Linked DNA regions of Homo sapiens: region 1 is linked to region 2. The links are contacts of gene promoters, found by promoter capture Hi-C in blood cells and fetal thymus (Javierre and others, 2016). All regions are on one chromosome and are shown on one strand. Each heading gives the region's core, a stretch centred on a gene start or on the middle of the fragment in contact. The rest is flanking DNA. Distances are from core to core; before and after follow the strand shown. Region 1 overlaps SLC35B2 (solute carrier family 35 member B2). Region 2 holds the start of OARD1 (O-acyl-ADP-ribose deacylase 1).

Region 1 (3,195 bases), core at 361-2,860, 3.2 Mb after region 2:
CTGGGAAAGCAGCATTGGAGCCTACACCGCTTGTGCTTTTCTCACCAGGGTAAGAAATGCAGGTATTTGCAGAGGGGAGTGAGTCTGGAAGGTGGCAGAGCACAGCTAGGGCAAGACTTAAGGGAACTTGTGGGAAGAGTAACTGGAACCTACCTATGCTCTCTTGACCCCAAACTCCCCAAAACCCCTCACTGAGGACTGTCTACCCCCGGGGCTCAGAATAAACTGCTTACTGGAAGATGGGTGACTTAAGGCAAAAGGGAAGGCTGCCTCCTGGGCTCCCCAATCCCCTGCTGCAGAGCTGGTCTGTGATACTGAGAAAACACCTGCATTTTGCCCTTTCAGCCAGCTCCCTCAGAGGTTACAGCAGAAGGGGATGGTGGGAGGGTCCTATTTCACTTCACCCCTCAGGCCCTTTCCACCCTCAAACCTTCTGCACAGGAGACTCAACAGGCACAGCCTTCTTTCCCCGTTGCTTTAGACGGCCCCGCGCGTAGACTCTGAGCAGGAGGGCAGCAAAGACCACAGCCACCCCCAGCCCTCCCACCACAGTGACAGTGTGGCCATAGAGAAGGCAGGAAAGAAGGATGGCAAAGGCCTGGCGGAGGGTCATGATGATGGTGAAGACGGCAGCCCCAAACTGCCCAATGGTGTAAAAGATGAAGAGCTGGCCACATGCGGAGCAGATGGAGAGTAGCAGGGCATGGGCAGCAAACTCACTGTGTCGCCCCATGAAGCGGGTTCCCTCCAGTAGGGCCCCCTGTTCTAGCAGTGAGCCCACTGTGAAGAGGCAGGAGAAGAAATTGACCCCAAACATCATCTGCACCGATGACATCTTATAGGCAAACAGGGCATCCTGCCAGTTTGAGGTGAAGCTGTCAAAAGCAATATAACCTGCCAGTAAGATGAGGCCTGAGAGTGTGGTGGCTGGGGAGCTGCGGGGCTCTGGTCCGCTGGATAGCAGAAACATGCTGACCCCAATGGAGATGAGGGTGGCTGTCAGGTACTCCCAGTGTTCGTAGCTGCGCCGAGACACAAGCTTTCCCATCAGCATGACAGGGATCACCTTAGAGGCCTTGGCCAGCACCTGGGTGGGGAAGCTGACGAACTTAAGAGCTTCGTATTGGCACCAGCTGCTAAGCACATTGGACAGGCTGGCAAAGGAGTACCGGTACATGGGTGCCCCATGCCGGGGCTGCTTGCAGAGAACACAGGAGAGGCCAGCCACAATCAGTGCCAGCACTCGGTTCATTAGCACCAGGAACTGCGAGTCCGTAAAGCGCTCACCCGGTGATGTGGCTGTGGCCCCATAGCTGCGGGTCATCACTCTTTCCTGCAGCACACCCCAAGTCAGATAAGACACCTGTTGGGGAAGGTAGAGACAAAGGAGACAATAAGCAAGATAATGAAAAGGTAGACAAAAATTGACCTCTCTCTCTTCAGGATTATGCCTAAGTGATTCAAAGGAAAATATACACTTTTTGGTTCCTCTGTAGAAGTTTCTTCTCCCCTCCTAAGTCTGGATTCACCTTGTAGGGAATCAACTGTGTGTGAAAAACCTATTCAGGGAGGCAAGAACTCTCAGAATTGGGTATCTGTAGTTCAACATGATATTCAAGGTGGAACTAGTACCCACTGCAAAATGCCATGGGGTCAGCATGTTAGCACTCTCTCACATGCAGTACTGGGGGAAGGCTGAATGGCTCCCCCACAATTTTATCAGTGGGTTTACAGTATGTGAGACACCAGTGCAGGAAGGAAGTATAATAACGGCACAGTAGAAATCACAGAGAATAGGGCAAGAGGAGTCCTCTCTTCTGCACTAGACATCTTGAAATAACAGCATGAACTTTCAGTACCAGTGCTGGAGAGGAGAAAAGGAAGAAACAAAAGGGCATTTCCCCCAAACACCTCAAAGATGGAGGTGCAGTGTGCCCCTGGGAGGAGGACACGAAACACACCAGCCAGCAAAGCTCTGGGACTGGTAAAATGGAAACCTTCACAGAATCCCTGCCCACCGGCATCCAACCCAGGAAGAGAGGCTGAGCCCACCTACCCACCTGGAGCCCTGTGGCACAGAAGAGCAGCTTCAGGGCCTGCCACATCGGGGTGGTCTCTGCCGCCTCTGTTCGGGGCGCCAGGGGAACCTCATCAGAGGCCTTGGGCTCATTGCCAAACACACAAGCTTTCACCAGGGGAAAGCAGAGGCCCCTACCTGAAGAAAGCACACAAAGTCAAGCCCCAAATCTTCTCCATAGCACTTCATCTTCCCCAGAGCAGCCAGCCTGCCCTGCTGTCCGGCCTACCGACCTCCCGCCCTCTCCAAGTCATATCCCGTTTGGACTGCTGGCCAAATACCCTCTTTCCCGACCTAGCTCACTTCCCCGCCCTTTCTTCACACACCGGTCTCCAGGTAGTTCTTCCGCCTGAAGTACTGCACCAGGAGGTAGCCAGGTACCATAAAGCTGGCATAGCCAGCAGCATTCACCACAAATCGGAAGAACCATAGCTGGGTCCATGACTCCGGAGGGGCTTCGGGAGTCTCCCCACCTGCCCCTAGGGAGGGGAACGCAGCCAGCACCACCACTGCCCACCATCTGTAAGGAAAGCGGACATAAGGATTAGGGCGCAGCTCCTCATCCCCTCCGCCCTCCAGAGGGGACCACACTGGAGTAGTGCCCGGAGTCTCCTCCCCGCCCCCTCCGCTGCAGCTCCGGCCCGGACAAAGAGCCTCTCTCTCTCTCTCTCTCTCGGGGAGGGGGTGCGCCGGCGCTGGCCAGGCAGAGCTTCCTCCCTCCCCGGGGGCGGATCCGCCCCTCTGGCCACACAGGTCTCCTCTGTTCCCTCCAACGCTAGCCGGCTGCTCAGGTCAGAGGAAGCGCCCCTTCCCCCACACTCCCCTCCACGATCCGGGACGTCAGGGTCCCCAGCCCCTCCGCCCGAAGCTCCCCAAGGAGCACAAAACCAAGCCGCAGCTCCCATCCCCGCTGGCTCCGGGCAGCGATATGCTGGCCGACGGCCGAGCAGCCGGGACCCCACCCGGCCCCCGTGCTGAGGCGCGGCAGTCACGTGGCCCGGGGGCTCGGTCACGTGAGCTCGCTGCTGCCCTAGCCCCCACCTGGCGTCCATGGTCCAGGCCGCGTGGGGTGGAGGGGGAACCGGGGAATGCGAGTCCCCGGGCCGCGCGCCCCCTGC
Region 2 (3,121 bases), core at 112-2,611:
GCCATTCTTGGGGAGGAAAATCTTAAAAACATTTGGTTCTTAGGAATCCCCTCTTTACACGCATATTTTATTAAAGTGTAACAGATTAAAAGGTGCTCTAGCCAGGGCAAACCAGGTAAGTGGTTTCCAAAACTCACGTTGATTTAAAAGTTCTTGCACCCCTCCAAATTTCTTCTTAAAGAGGACAGCTATCCCAGCGCCCATGCGACAATCCTCACTGATACAGTGGGCTAAAGAGTCTGTTTTCGGGCATGCAAAAAGGTCTCCTTTCACATAAGTGATCTAAAAAATGTGCAAAGGAAAAGACAATGTTTTATTAGATACAGTAAAATACTAAGCTATTTTTCTGTATTTTGTGTCCCCCACGACTACCTCTCCCGGCACCCCTTCCTCCAATCTGATTTAAAGCCAAACCAATTACAGCATGTGTAAAAGGAAAGTAATGGATGATCCCTGCCTAGAATTTTGAGCCTTTTTAAAGTAAATCAGCTAGAGAGAAAAAAAGATAATGCAATCATTAATTTAATTAAAAAGTGTTTATGCTTTTGACCTCCATTATTACGAATTTCAGTTCACCAATAAGTCAATAGTTGTTACGCACTCTGCTTCCTTCTGGATCTTCATTAAGGCTGCTGGCCATGATACTGAGTCGCTATTTCCAGAATTTAAGTGTTTCTTCAGCTATGAGAAGGGAAAAGGAAGTAAAAATGCTTAGGCAGCCTTAGTATATAATATTCTGATTGCCCTGTACAACCACTTAATAGGCTTTTTTCCCCAACGTTTATCGATGAATGTGAGTTTGTTCGGCCCCTGGGACGTAATACAAAACCCTTCTGGGGCAAAGAGGAAGAACGCTTAGGTTCGGAGGCTGTCTCGACCCGCTCTCATTTCGTGCTTTCCTGGAGCGCCCCGCTCCGTCAGCGGAAGCAAAGCCCATCCCTAAGACACGCCTCCTCCTTTCTCCAGGGCCACTCCGGAGCAAGGCCGATTTAGGACGGTCTCCTTTTCTCTGCACGACGCAAAAGTATTTCCCCAGTGGGTCTGGCTTAGAAGAAAACAGAAGGGACTTGGCCACAGTCCCGTTAAGCCGCAACCACAGAGTGTACAGGGTACTGGCGTGCTGAGCCCCAGGCGTGGGGAAAGGAAGGCGGCCTCTCAAGGAACGTTCACCCCCCACTTTTTTGGGGGGTGCGTGGGAGAAGGAAAGAGTCTATTGAAGCCTCCCATTCTCTGTCTCCTACCCTAGGGCGGGTCAGCGAGGACGCAGTCTGTCCTGGGGTCCTATGGGAGGGTGCGGGGAGGCTCGCTCAAAGCCCCAACGTACCCAAGTCACCCTTCACCTGGAAAGGAGTCGGTTGTTTGGAGGTCCCCGCCCCGCGGGGAAGGGCTCCGGATCCGACCCTGGTAGGTGGGGAGCAGCGGACCAGCCCAAACGCGGAGCCAATCCCGCCAAAGCCCTTAATTGCACGCATCTAAGATGGCCGCCCCCGCCCGGTAGCGGGGCGGAAACGAGCCCCTCTAGCTTGCTAGCCGAGCCCACACTCTTTGGCGAAGGCCGCCGAACTTCCGGCAGTAAATTCCGTGGTTTCCCGCCGCCGCCCGCGCATGCGTAACGAAACTGCCCCACGAGTCGGGAAAAGTGGCGCTTGCGCATTAGCCGCAGGGGTGTGTCCTAGTGGCCACTTGGAAAGGGGTGGGCAGCTGGCAAAGGGGCTAGTTAGCGCCTGCGTAGTACTAAGCTCAAGGCAGCGTTTTGAGTTGAAGGGTCTGGCGCGTCTGGAAAGCGCCTGCGTATTCCTTTCACTGGGGGTGGTGTCAAAGCGGGAAGGTGGGCGTGGCTTCAGGGAACGCCTGCGCGTTGCTCCTCCGAAGGGGTGGGGCGATCCCTGAACTGGAGTTAGTGGGCGTGGCCTCAGAGGCGCCTGCGCGGAGGCGGTTGGAGGGAGGCCCGATTCCCCTTTGTTCGGGTTCGCCATTTTGCTAGGCAGCGGCAGTGGCGGCGGCAGCGGCGGCTGGAGCCTCTGATTGGGTTTCGGAGTCCGGTACTGGAGCCAATCAGCGCGGGCAGCGAACCGGGGGAGCGAGGCACGGTGAGTGTGAGGAGCCAATATCCAGCGGCCCAGAGCCGGCCCCAGCGCCCCGATTGGCGGGTCTCGCTGACCACTCAGGAGAGGCCCAGGCGCCCGTCGAGCCCGGGGAGTCGAGCTGAGCCTAGCCGAGCCGGGCGGCCAGCGGCCCCGGCCCGGGGCCTGCGAGCGCCTCGGGGCACTCCCGGCCGAGGCCTGCAGGGGCCGCCCCGCGCGGGGATGGCGCCTCGGGGAGCAGGCACCTCGGGGCTCCGACCCTCGCAGGGTGCCAGGGCCAGTTGGGAATGCGTCCCTGTTCCCCGACTCAGGCCCAGGTTCTCAGGCCCCAGGCCTGGGGCCACGAATGGCCCTACACTAGGGGACACATGCGCGCCCTGGGCCTCGGCGATTTCCTCCTGGTCGTTCTGGCCGCAAACTTAAACCTGCCCTTGCACTCTCCACTCTCCGGCCCTTGGGACAGGAAGCCTCCCCGGGGCCCGCGCCCCCCGCTCCCCGCTCCCAGCGAGCCGGGTCTGTCTTATCTGCAGCCCCTCTAGGTCGGGAGGGAGGCCTGGGGAGGGTGCGCGCCGCGGCCGCGGGGTCCCGTGTGCGGCTGGCAACGGGGCTGGCCCGCCCACGCCTCGGAGCCCTATGGGCCCGCCCCCGCTGTCTCCCTGGTGGGGAGAGGGGGCCGTTAGTTCGCCCACTCCCCCTGCTCCGCCGCGCCCCTCCTCCCAGCCCGCTCCGCCCGGGTCTCCGGCCCGGCGCCGTTACCACCCCTTTTGGCTCGTCATTTCCTCTCTTCCCCGCCCCGTTCGCAGTGGCAGGACCGCACACCTCCGTCTTGGAGCCCAACCAAGCGGTCTCCGTTTCTTGTCCGGGCTGTAAGACCAGTCCATTCGGTGCCTGGAACCTCACTCTTAGAAGATTGATACCCTTGCGCATTCTTTCCGGAGGCTGCACAACTTGCTGTTCATATTACTAATCTTATCCACTGCTCATTTTGTGAAATCTCCCTCCCTTGGGAATATAGTACAGTTTTGGGGGTTTTTTTT

Evidence for each region. The method cuts DNA at HindIII sites, captures the fragments that hold promoters and counts their contacts. A CHiCAGO score of 5 or more calls a contact.
Region 1: a fragment that was not itself captured here is called in contact with the fragment with the promoter of OARD1 in region 2 in 1 of 17 cell types (total CD4 T cells); the score reaches 7.0 in total CD4 T cells.

Annotation. Positions count from the first base shown.
Region 1 is chr6:44,254,282-44,257,476 of GRCh38, forward strand. It overlaps SLC35B2 (solute carrier family 35 member B2), which reads right to left. Exons shown (of 4, transcript NM_178148.4): 1 at 3,119-3,195; 2 at 2,404-2,597; 3 at 2,061-2,215; 4 at 1-1,363. The coding sequence starts at 3,129. The coding sequence ends at 425. MIR4647 (microRNA 4647) reads right to left here and starts at 4; the gene lies at 1-4. RefSeq lists enhancers at 691-1,406, 2,836-3,195 and a silencer at 2,926-3,195. The HindIII fragment of the contact is 1,146 bases long and covers 1,038-2,183 here.
Region 2 is chr6:41,070,995-41,074,115 of GRCh38, forward strand. OARD1 (O-acyl-ADP-ribose deacylase 1) reads right to left here and starts at 1,362. Exons shown (of 6, transcript NM_001329686.2): 1 at 1,242-1,362; 2 at 602-681; 3 at 138-282. The coding sequence starts at 640. It overlaps NFYA (nuclear transcription factor Y subunit alpha), which reads left to right and starts at 1,980. Exons shown (of 10, transcript NM_002505.5): 1 at 1,980-2,090. RefSeq lists enhancers at 1,381-1,590, 1,621-1,670 and silencers at 2,051-2,680, 2,711-2,870. The HindIII fragment of the contact is 4,776 bases long and covers 1-3,121 here.